Regions from separate parts of the Homo sapiens genome. Here region 1 is linked to region 2. Evidence: promoter capture Hi-C in 16 types of primary human blood cells and fetal thymus (Javierre and others, 2016). All regions are on one chromosome and are shown on one strand. Each heading gives the region's core, a stretch centred on a gene start or on the middle of the fragment in contact. The rest is flanking DNA. Distances are from core to core; before and after follow the strand shown. Region 1 overlaps MBNL1 (muscleblind like splicing regulator 1). Region 2 holds the start of GPR87 (G protein-coupled receptor 87).

The links. Contacts are between HindIII fragments. The CHiCAGO score rates a contact against its expected background, and 5 or more counts as called.
Region 1: a fragment that was not itself captured here is called in contact with the fragment with the promoter of GPR87 in region 2 in 1 of 17 cell types (neutrophils); the score reaches 5.3 in neutrophils.

Annotation. Positions count from the first base shown.
Region 1 is chr3:152,389,732-152,395,572 of GRCh38, reverse strand. All of the region lies in intron 2 of MBNL1 (muscleblind like splicing regulator 1), which reads right to left. Among named protein-coding and RNA genes, the nearest start is that of MBNL1-AS1, 120 kb to the right of the region's middle. The HindIII fragment of the contact is 4,446 bases long and covers 1-4,053 here.
Region 2 is chr3:151,312,379-151,318,893 of GRCh38, reverse strand. GPR87 (G protein-coupled receptor 87) reads left to right here and starts at 2,074. Exons shown (of 3, transcript NM_023915.4): 1 at 2,074-2,308. The region is part of intron 16 of MED12L (mediator complex subunit 12L); the gene reads right to left. RefSeq lists an enhancer at 1,489-2,688. The HindIII fragment of the contact is 4,276 bases long and covers 1-2,225 here.

The sequences.
Region 1 (5,841 bases), core at 581-3,080, 1.1 Mb before region 2:
AAGAGAAGTCAAGAGTAATGACTGATTGTCTGGTTATATAGGACCTAAAAATCCAAGACAAAACAGCTGCCTAAATTGTTCAAGTGGGGTGGCAAGATAAGCTAGCACACAAATGTCTTCTGTGAAATATAGCACCAAAATGCTTGAGAAGAAAAAACAGACAAATATTAATTAGGACTATCATTTGATAAACAGCGCAACAGTTGGCCTGCATTTTATTTAAACAAAAAGTTTAAAATAATTTATATTATGCCACAAAATAATGAAAATGTACTAGTCACTCCGTTAACCTTGAAGCAATAACATGTCTGCTACAAAATCTTAAACTTTAAAAATATTTCTCACAGGATAAAAACTACTTATCCATATTTTTGTTTTATAGACTGTGAATATAATAATTAAATAAAAGCTGAAGGCCGGGCACGGTAGCTCACACCTGTAATCCCAGCACTTTGGGAGGCTGAGGCAGGTGGATCACGAGGTCAGGGGATCAAGACCATCCTGGCCAACATGGTGAAACCCGTCTCTACTAAAATACAAACAAAAATTAGCCTGGCGTGGTGGTGCATGTTTGTGGTCCCAGCTACTCGGGAGGCTGAGGCAGCAGAATCGCTTGAACCTGGGAGGTGGAGATTGCAGTGAGCCGAGATCGCTCCACTGCGCTCCACTCTGGCAATAGAGTGAGACTCCCTCTCGGGACAAAAAAAGAAAAATTAACTATGGATGATGAAGGGAGAAAATTACTATTTATTGTTTATGCTCTTCCAAGAGTACTGGACATAACACCCATCTAAAGGTCTCCCAGAGTCAGGCTCCATCTGACACCTGTCCCTGTTTATTTTCTGTATAGTACTTGTCATGCCTGTAATTATGTTGCTTATTTATGTGTTTATTTATCAACTAATTCCTGCACTAGGGAATAAGATCCATGAGGGCAGGCACCCTGTTTCACCTAGCTTAGAGTGTGCCACAGAGTGCTGAATAAAGGAAAGAGTAGATCTCACATAATTCTGTCAAGGATTCTATAGCACCAGTACTGTTACTCCCCACTTTGCTGACAAGGATTCAGACATCCTGTGAAATTAAATAATTTGTACAAGGTCACAGAACAATTAAGGTGTCAGAGACATCTGCATGAGGCATATGTACCGTATAAACAAATTTGGCAGGCTATATTCAGAACTAAAACAGTGTCAAACTGAAATTCAAATAGCTAGTGGTGTTTAAAAATGCAGCAATTAAGCAAACAGTCTGTGAAAGACTCTTCTCACTGTATATAAATAGTCAGACAGACTTCTTATAGCTTTAATCACAGTACACATTTAGTTAAAATATGTATTTCACACTAATTGACTATGACTATTTTGCAAATTATAAACAATGTTATCTGTTACCCTTTGGAAAAATTTGGTTTTGCCCTCAAAATATTACTGCTGTCTCAGAGATTCTCACTTTGGATGAAATTGTGAAGAAAATCTACCCAACAATCTTGGTTTTTAAAATGGTAGGTTCGTTTTGGAAAACCATGTAGGATGAACTGAATGTCAGTGATAAAAATAGATTTATAACTAAATTGGTTACTCTCAATAACCACTGGAATAGCTTAATAAATTAGGCACTATTTTTTCAGTATAGTTCTCAGAAAAAATTATTTAAAATAATTTCATATCTCCTACTAAAGGCGATAAAGAAATTACCTTTGAGAAAACAATTTCTACAAAGAACTAGTGAACTACATAATGCTGAAATTCACTGTGCCAACTATAGCTCACGCACAGGAAAGGGGAACATATATCCACAATGTGTTGTTAATACTCATATTTATCCATTAATAAATATATAAGGTATCTACTTGCTTATCATTATGCTGGGTGATGCAGGATAGAAAAAGAAATACAAAATGCAATTCCAACTGGTAAAGAAAGCTAGCTATAGAAGACATTAATGGAAGGTAACTTCATGAGAAACACTCTCAAGAAGAGGTACAAATAAAGCTGGGATACTAATAGTCAAACGATATTCCCTCAGACCTGAATCATATTTCACCGTAACATTCATTTCCTTAAGAAGGTAAGTCAATGGCTTTCTCACCCAGTGTTTCAGTACAGTTCCAGAGACTTTTAGCTCTTTGCTGCTATTCTTGGGTAGATTCAATGCTCAGAAAGTAAAAGGCCTAAAATTATCATGCCCATTAAAAGTTATCTGATACCTAGGATTAGTCTTGGATATCAAGAAATTCTCTAAGATAGACTGTAGCTGCAAGCTAATTTGTAGCTCTAACCTACATTCCAGATTTAAAAGCCATCAATGGCCAGGGGCCCTTTCTACTCCCAGTCTATTGGGAATACAATATCTATTTTCCAGCAGTTCAGGACTATCTAGAAAGCAGGTATTCATGGAAAAGGGATTTCAGGGAGGAATGACAGAAGTCAAGGAGACAGGCCAGGGAGGGCTGGGTGAGAGAACAGAGATGTTTATGTAAAGGAGTTCTGGTACCTTCCTATGGGAGGCATCTTGGCAAGAGATTCTGGGCTTCTTTTAGGAGGTACCTTGAAGCAATAAGATAGCAGCACTCTAGAAACTTAGGATCCAACGCAACAAATTGTACACCATTTTAAAAGCTAGAAAATTCAACTAGCCATCTGTACAAGCATGTTTTCCTGTTAAAAACAACAAAAAAAGAAGGCCTTTGGGATTTTCTACTCAGAATACTTCTCAGGAATATTTTTACATCTCATATAAAGTTTCCCTGACATTACTGCAAAAAACTGGGAGTAGCTACCTTTCAGAAGAACGTGTTTGTATTGCCAGAACATGGAATATTCTAAAAGGTGCTTTTGTAATATATCTTCCTTCTCTGTGTATATCTTACCCATCTGGAGACTATGGCTCACCCAGTTAAGGCTATTACATAATTTTGCCAAAGAGGATAAAAATAGAAAGGGGTTAAGGATAAATGTTAAAACAGACATGTATTATTCAAAATCTCAACATCAAGGCTTTGAATGTTTTGTTTTACTTCTTGTTGCTGCTTTTAAAAAGTAGAAATTCTGGGATAGCAGTTTATTCAAAGAGGAAGAAGTAGAATAAGTATGCTGATTTTCAAAAGCATTCCATTCATTTTTTGAGTTTTTAAAAAGCACATGAAATGTAAATATGTACAAAAGGCTCAATTTGTTTAACTCTGTCTCCCATTAACACCACTCCAATGGTTTTAATATCAATTTTAGTTCTGAATTTTTGTCTCAGAAATGAGCTCTGAAATTGATAATAAAAGTATTACAAAGAAATAAGTGAAATACACATTAACCTATGTGTAATGTTACCTAAGCAGGGGATTATATTTAAAAAAATATTAAGACCCATCTTCAGGTACTTCTTGCGGAGATTTCTGTTCATGTTGCACTACGTAAAGAGAAAAGTCTTTATGCCACTACTTACTATTTATAAATGTCAACTGCTTCTCTATAATGTAATCATACTTTTTTTTTTTGCACAAAATGACAGGACTTAATGATGAGCTCTGTATTTGAAACACATGTTCAGTAAAAGAAACGACAGTTTGCAATTTATTGATATTATAGAAACAAAGAAAGTGCCAATACTTTACTACCAATTCCCTGCAAACTCAGCCTTTCCCACCAAAAGAGAATTGGAATGCATTCATCAGAATTTTCAAAATGTGCTTCCCTGTTAGCCCTGTGAGATGGGGGTGGGTATGGGATAGACAGATTCAGCAAGCCAGAGGCAATTGAATGTACTTCTCAGTGCTTCCAACTGGGATGTCAGCACTTTACTAATCAAAGTTGCCTTTTCACCTCTCATGTATATTCTATTTTTCATCTTGAATTATACCAAGGTGTTTTCTATAGGAAATATCACTACAATAATGTCTCACATGTGTTTAGCAATATGCTGCACATGTCAGGCAGGAGCTAAATGCAGAGAATAAAGAAGCATGTAGAATTAAGCCCCCAACACTGTCAGCCTTCCTTCCAAAAGTTTTCTGGAGCTGTATGAAATACTGCTTCCCATGTGATTTTCAGGAAAGCTTTATGGACCAAGTTTTCAAATGCAAATAACAAGGTCAAAAGGAGGAAGGTTTATAGGTATGAAGAACTGGAAGAAAAAACGAAAACATAGAAAGAAGGTCATAAATTTGAAAGGTAGTGTCAAAAATCTGTGAACAGAAGTTTAAGCAGTTACATAACATCCGTCCTTGCTATGAAGATTTCATGGTTCAAACTTAGAATCATTATTCATTTTAGGTAAGGTTTTAATTTATCTAAGAAAGGGCAACTTAATGTGTAATATTATGCTGCAACATTCCTTTAAAACTGAAAAAGGAGAGAGTGCTTAATAGTAGGAACTCAAAAAGCAGAAAGATGTATTCAGGTTCAAATCCCAATTTTGCCATTTACCAGCCCTGCGGCCTTGTACATAGCACTTAATCCTCTAAACCTCTGTTTCTTCACCAATAAAATGGGAATAACTATACTATCTCCCTGATAAGGTTATATAAGAGGATTTAAATGAACATTTGTGTGAAGTCAATACCTAGCACCTAGAGAACACAGGTAGAGTATAGCTGTTGTTCTTATTTTAAGTTTATCTAGATTTGTTAAATGAAAGTTTTCTAGTCTCGCTCTCACATCACTGCACTTCAAAGGTTTTTGGGCATTGTTCTGGTTAAGCTGGGTCTTTCCACAAAGTGCTGCTCCTGCTCTGCTACTCTGCAGTCTTTAGGGCAAGGGCATTCTTGCCTGTGCCCTGTGACCCTCTCCCTGCATCAAGTATCCTAGTCCATTAACAGTTTTACTGCTACTTAGCTTTGATTTGCCACTACAATAAAGAAGGTATGGCATTTCATTTTCAAAAACTATCTCGGCCTAAGTCACCAGAGGACTACAACCCACTTATATCAGAGTGTGTGTGTGTGTGTGTGTGTGTGTGTGTGTGCATAACAATACAATTATGTACAGTACAAAATACATGATAATAAATGATTGTGCTACTGGTTTACTTATTTACTATACTACTTATCATTAGCATGTACTCTTTCTAATAATTAAAAAAAAAAAGTTAACTGTAAAACAGCCTCCAGCAGGCCCTTCAGGAGGTATTCCAGAAGAAGGCATTGTTATCATAGGAGATGACAGCTCCATGCATGGTATCATTCTTGAAGACCTTCTAGTGGGACAAGATGTGGAGTGAAGAAGACATTGATATTAATGGTCCCAACCCTGTGTAGGCCTAAAATAACATATACGTTTGTGTCTTAGTTTTTAAAGGTTTACAAAATAAAAAAAAAAATAGAGAAAAGCCTTAAAGATATAAAAAAGTTTTTGTACAGATGTACAATCTGTTTGCATTTTAAGCTAAGTGTTATTACAAAAGAGTCAGTAAGTTTTTTTTTTTTTAATTATAAATTTAAAAAAGTTCTTTGGGAGGCCGAAGCAGGTGGATCACAAGGTCAGGAGTTCGAGACCAGCCTGGCCAATATGGTGAAACCCCGTCTCTACTAAAAATACAAAAATTAGCCAGGCATGGCAGCCTGTAGTCCCAGCTACTTGGGAGGCTGAGGCAGGAGAATTTCTTGAACCCGGGAGGCATATGTTGCAGTGAGCTGAGATCGTGCTACTGCAGTCCAGCCTGGGCAACAGAGCGAGACTCCATCTCAAAAAATAAATAAATAAATAAATAAATTACATTAAGGTTAATTTGTTGAAGAACAAAACATATACATTTAGTATAGCCTAAGAGCACAGTGTTTGTAAAGCCAACAGTCATGTATAGTAATCTCTGAGGCCTTCACATTCACTCACTACTCACTCACTCATC
Region 2 (6,515 bases), core at 825-3,324:
GTAGTGAAGGGACATCACCTTATTTCCTACTTAACACCATCACACATAAAGTTAAAGATGCTTCATTATACAGGAAAATTTCATAGGCCCCTCACAAGCCCTTCTTCGCACTTAGAAGGGCCTATGATAACCCTTTCACAGTAGGGCCCTCTCTTTTTTTTAAAAGGTCTTTATTCTTATAACAGAAGCCTGTCAAATATCTGTCAGAATAAGCTCCCTACTAAGATTTTATACACATCACTGGAAATTTGGGGTGATAATCCTCAGTACTTGCAGCAAAGTTCTTTGCACAACATACTTTTATGGGGGCCATAAGAGATGCTTCTCCCTTTGACTGATGCCTTTAGTACTTAACAGTTAGTTGTTCTGGCAGTAAAATGTCAAATTATGAGCAGTACCTCATTTATTATTTATGAATCATCATGAAAAAATGGCAAAAAGGTCAACACAAGGACAAATCTCCCAAACTAAAGTCTGCATAGCATAACCCTTCTGCTCAAAATACAACAAACTGGTTTCAAAAAAAAAAAAAGAAGAAAAGAAAAGAAACTGGCTTCAAATGCTAAATCAATGGGGAAGTATAAAATAGCACAGAGAGAGTCAAAACTAAATGAAGGATTGTTTGTAAATCTGCAAATTCTTAAAAGATTAGGCCATTATTAAGTTGGCTAATTGTTATTCAAACACCTTCCCCAGGACTAGCTACTTTTCCGTAACATACTTAATCCACCCAAAGCAGAATGTAAAAAAAAAAAAAATTAAAATTGTAGGTGTCTGTTTTTGTATGGTTAGGAAGCAGATAGGAAAATACAAAAAATATAATTTTGATACCCAACTCTTGATTTTTAAGTTAAACACCCATTTGTTTTTCTGTAAAAACATAAGGAAAATCAACTAGTACGTACACATTATTTCCTTAAGACACAAGTAAACACTAAGTAATACCTATTATAGATTTATTCACTCCAAAAAAGTTTTCACCTTTGATTATTTTCATTTATCTTCATCCACAATAACAGGTTTTGATTCCATTTGATGAAATTTTATTTTTTTAAATGTATTTAAATGTTGCATTCAAGAAAATATCAGAATCTTTGAGATTCTCATCTGAAAGCAAGAAAATTATTTACAAATCAGAAAAAGTGGCCGGGCGCAGTGGCTCACACATGTAATCCCAGCACTTTGGGAGGCTGAGGCGGGCGGATCATGAGGTCAGGAGTTCAGGACCAGCCTGGCCAACATAGAGAAACCCCGTCTCTACTAAAAATACAAAAAATTAGCCGGGTGTAGTCGTGGGCACCTGTAATCCTACCTACTCAGGAGGCTGAGGCAGGAGAATCACTTGAATCCGGGAGGTGGAGGTTGCAGCAAGCTGAGATCATGCCACTGCATACCAGCCCGGGCAACAGTGTGAGACTCCGTCTCACAAAAAAAAAAAAAAAAAAAAAAAAAAAAAAGTGATATGATTATATAAATTTGTCATTGTTGGATGCTTTTTTAAAGCAATAAAATAAATTGTTTTATGTTAAAGGTCAGCATTCAAAGGAGTCAGTGAACCCAGCCCCTGAATAATTTAACATATTTTGAATACTTATCATTGTGTATGTGTAAAAATATGTCTATTGTGTATGTGTAAAAATATGTCTACAGATTTCATTAGTTTCATAAGACTACAAGTTTCCAAAGTTATCAATTACAACAATACTCTTTAAATAATATGTAGAATAATATTTTCAAAGAATTCATCTGTCATAAAGCATATTCTTATTTCTTTTAATCCAAAATTTAATTGGCAGGAAGGCTGCAAATACATGTTTTCTAGATAGCAATAGGAGGCTGGAAAAAAAAAATGACCTAAAAATTGGATCTGATGAGTTAGTAGGCCCCAACCCGAGACTTCATCCCCCACTCCTTAAGCAGACTTCTGGCAGTCTAAGCTCCAGCCCTCTGTGTTTCCTTCAGGTGAATCACCATCTGATTCCTGCAGGTTCAGGAAATACTCTTCCCCAGTCGACAAATCTCACCTACTCTTAGTTATGAGTCATTTACATTAGCAAGAGAGCAAGTTGTTCCAGTAGTCGCCTGGCAGGAGAATTTGAAAGGGTGCCCCAAAGGACAATCTCTAAAGGGGTAAGGGAGATACCTACCTTGTCTGGTAGGGGAGATGTTTCGTTTTCATGCTTTACCAGAAAATCCACTTCCCTGCCGACCTTAGTTTCAAAGCTTATTCTTAATTAGAGACAAGAAACCTGTTTCAACTTGAAGACACCGTATGAGGTGAATGGACAGCCAGCCACCACAATGAAAGGTAAACGAAAAATTTTTCATTTTCTTAAAAGCCGTGGTTGATAAGACACAGCAATGATTAAAAACTGTAATTATACTTCTGCTTAACTCTGAGGTTTGAAGAAAAACTAGAAATTAGAATGCTGACAGTAAGATATGAGGCACCACTGTGAGCCATGAAGCTTCAACTGTTTCCAGCTCAGGCAGGCAGAAATATAAACTACATATTGTGCCTTCAAAAGTAGAAACAATGTTTTGGCAATCACTCCTATTTAGTACATTTTTTTTTAAACCACATTTACTTTATTAGATGAGTAAAAGTCAAAGTCTCTTATAATTGTTTCCCAGGACCCAAAACTTAAAATTTGTTTCATAATCGTTTATCCGTATTGTTTTTTTTTAAAGAGAGAGACAAAGATTTTTCTCTTTCCCAACTGTCTCATTTTGATAAAATAATCTCAGTCTTTTCATTGTACCACAAAGAACAGGGCAATCCTCATTCTGATCCCTGGAGAAGTCATGTTAAAACATGTCAGGAAAGGCACTGAGAAAACTGCCCAGTGACTGACAAACAGGTTAGGAACAGCTTACTGTTGTTCCACATTCAAACTGTTTGGGAAGTTTTCACTGCAATGAGGAAAACAAGAAGCAAGCATGGAGATCTCAGTTCTTTTAAATTTTAATAAGGACTTTTAAAAGATAGATGAGCCTAAAGTAGAGTGACTTTTTGATTTCTTATTTTAAGATTTATCTGCTATGGAATTTTACATCACATTCTCAAGTTGAATCTGCTTTTATTTTAGGTATATTAACATTTTTAACAAGAGATTTCTTTCATAATTGTTCTCCAATTTACTAGCAATATGAACAGCAACAAATCTGGTTCTATATTACTTTATACTGGGGGGAAAAAAGCCAGACACCCTGTTGATATTTATTATTTCTGCCAATTGAGATTAACTGTCTCCATGAAGTTAGGGATCAAAGAGGCATATTCTCTTAATCCTTCAGCAACATCTCATCCTCAGACTCTTGTTTCTGACCTCTACTTGAAATGTGTTGCAGGTATACATGGGTTAAGGACAAGGGCCTAGAAGAGCAGATGGATGGCTGAATTTCATATTTAAGGATACAGCCTATAAAAAGAAAGTATCCCGCCAGAAAATCTTTATTTCATGAAGACACTGAGAAAATGCCCTAACCAGAGATAACATGCTAAGAGGATTTACTGCATTCAGAGATGTGGGTGGGAAAAGGAAGACTAAGTTAAAAGGAATGTTCTTATTTAGAGTTGTGCTGTTTGTGCTCTTCAGAGTCTGCCTGCTTTTCTTCCTTAATATCTTGGCATTTAACTCTCTTTAAGAACCACAACAACAAAATATTTCACGCTTAGCTCTTTACTCTGAGAAAATACCAAGGAAAGTTAAGATAGAGGAGACCACAATGGCCATTAGTTCCTTGTATGCTCCTGAAATAAGAAAAGCCTGGAAAATCCATGAAAATCCCTCAAAGCCCAATAAAGGGTAAGGTTGTGAAGACAGGACAGAAGTGAGGTGAAATCTACGTAAAGTCACCTCCCTAGAAGCATCCCCCAGTCTCCAGGGTAGATGTTCTCTATGCAGGCAAGAGGCAGTAGTTTGGGTTTAAAGTAGAAAGCCCAGGACTCACAGCAAAATGACCTGGGTTTAAGGGCTGATTGTACCAAATATTATCAGTGTGACTTAGGCAAGTCTCTGAATTCCCCAGGAGCTCACTTCCCTTCCTCACAGGTAAAATGAAGGGATTAGATCAGAGGGTCATTAGAGGCCCCTTGCATCTCTAGATTCCCACGATCCAGGTGATATGCTGAGACGCTGGGGTTGGTAATGAAAGAACCCAAGGCTTGGACCAAGCACACAGGAATGCTTGAGAGGAAATGGGGTAGAGCCACAAATGAGGACCTTCCCAATTCTGCCCCTAGCCAGCTACGTGATGTTAATCAAATCTCGACTTCGCTAGGTCTCAGATTCTTCCTCTACAAGATGAAGATGAATGTACTATTTGCTCTTCCTACCTGGCTGAAAGTTTTGCATTAATACAAGTATTAATACAAGTGCCAGCTGCAGTTCTTATACTTGTAACTATCTAAAGCAGGGAGGCAAGAGCAGAAGCAAATGCAAGGTGACCCTGCTGTTAAAAACTAGATGAGATGCACCCACCTCTCAGACCTTCTGCTTCAGGCCAATGGTGAAAGACAGGTTCTTTCTGACCTTACAAATATTACGAAATCCTCTCCCTCCTTATATGGCAAACACAGGCAGAATAGAATATTTGTTCTCTATCTTGTACCTAATTAACATATTTTGTTTCATTAATATTATTATTGGCCAAACATTTAAAAAATTACACTAAAATACATTTAAGCGAGAGCACTGATTAAGTTCCATTTAGTGTAAGCCATGACATTAAGTCATTTATATCAATGATTCTATAGTTTCTCTTAAACAGTAATTTCTAATGATTTCCATCATTTTAAAAGAAGAGCAAAGCTCCTTAAATGACCTTTTCTAATGTACTAGATAGGATCCGTATGGCACAAACTGTCCTTCTATCCTTAATACTAAAACAACAATAATTAGCATATACATCTAGCTTGATATGTGACAAGATTACTGCATATTTTATCATGCAATTTTTTTTTTTTTTGAGACGGAGTCTCGCTCTGTCACCAGGTTGGAGTGCAGTCGCGTGATCTTTGCTCACTGCAACCTCTGCCTCCTGCGTTCAAGCGATTCTCCTGCCTCAGCCTCCCAAGTGGCTGGGATTATAGGCGCCCACCACCATGTAACCTCTGCCTCCTGGGTTCAAGCAATTCTCCTGCCTCAGACTCCTAAGTGGCTGGGATTATAGGCGCCCACGACCATGCCCAGCTAATTTTTGTATTTTTAGTAGAGACGGGGTTTCACCATGTTGGCCAGGATGGTCTCAATCTCTTGACCCGGTGATCCACCCATCTCGGCCTCCCAAAGTGCTGGGATTACAGGTGTGAGCCACCGCACCTGGCCTTATCATGCATTTTTTTTTTTAACTCAGACAACCTTAAGGTATAAATTACTATTATCCACTTTTACAGCTGAGCAAACTGAGGCTTAACAAGCATAACAGTAGGGAGCACAGCTCTGACCTTGAACCACTGCCCACAGTCAACCACGCTGTATTTGCTGTTACCTCTTTTTGTGGGTAGTTTCATATGTAAAATGATATAGACTTATTGTATATTTACCATATACTAGTACCATAGTATAGACTACAGTAGATAAATGGCCAACTTGGGTGCATGATCCCCTGCAATCAAGTTGGAGCTATTTTAACTTGGTAGTTTTCCCAAAGGAGGCATCAGGTGCTAATCAGCACATGAATACCAAACTTCTGTGCAGGCAGTAGCAGAGCGGTAGTTAGGAGCACAGCACTGAGATGGGCTTACGTTCTGTTCAAATCCAGGCTCTGCCCCTCATTAGTGGTGTTAATGAGGGCAAGCTCTAGCACTCCAGCGACAGCACATATCTGCTCAAAGAACAAATAACATGTGCAAATAGCCCAAGTATATTGTATTCCAAGTATTCTCTCTAAGCCTCAGGTTTTTTCATCTGAAAAACTAGAGTACTAATTCTTACTACCCACTCAAGTAGCATGTCAATACTGAGTTATTACTACATGTCAAGTTTGAATAAAAGGTCTATGCTATGGTAATACTTCATTCAAAACAATCTTATGAGGGCTGTTTTACAGAAGAAGGCGGCACAGAGGGGTTGGGTAACCTGCCCAAGTAAGTGGCAAACCTGTAATGTGAATCCAAAGTCCTTTTAATAAATTAAAATATACATAGGTAATTTAGAACACTTCTAGGCACACAATAATACTAGCCAGCATTTGGGGAGCTCTTTTACTGTTGTTGTATGTAGCAAGATAGACACTTAGACTTCTCAAGCTCCCAGAAAGGGTTTTGCCCTGTAGCCTGAACAGGCTCTCAGGTCAAAGATATTACTGTCTCTTGACCACCAGAGAAACTCTCTGGAGGACATATAACAAAGTGAAACTTTGTTTTCCAAGTCCTTGAGTCTAGAGGGTACCCTTTACTGACTATATCAAGATTCGGAATGCCTCCAAAGCAAAGGCCAGTATACCAAAAGGGCAGCAGAAACAAAATGATCTGAAGTCCCTGTACTAAAGGAGCTTATGATCTAGTTAAG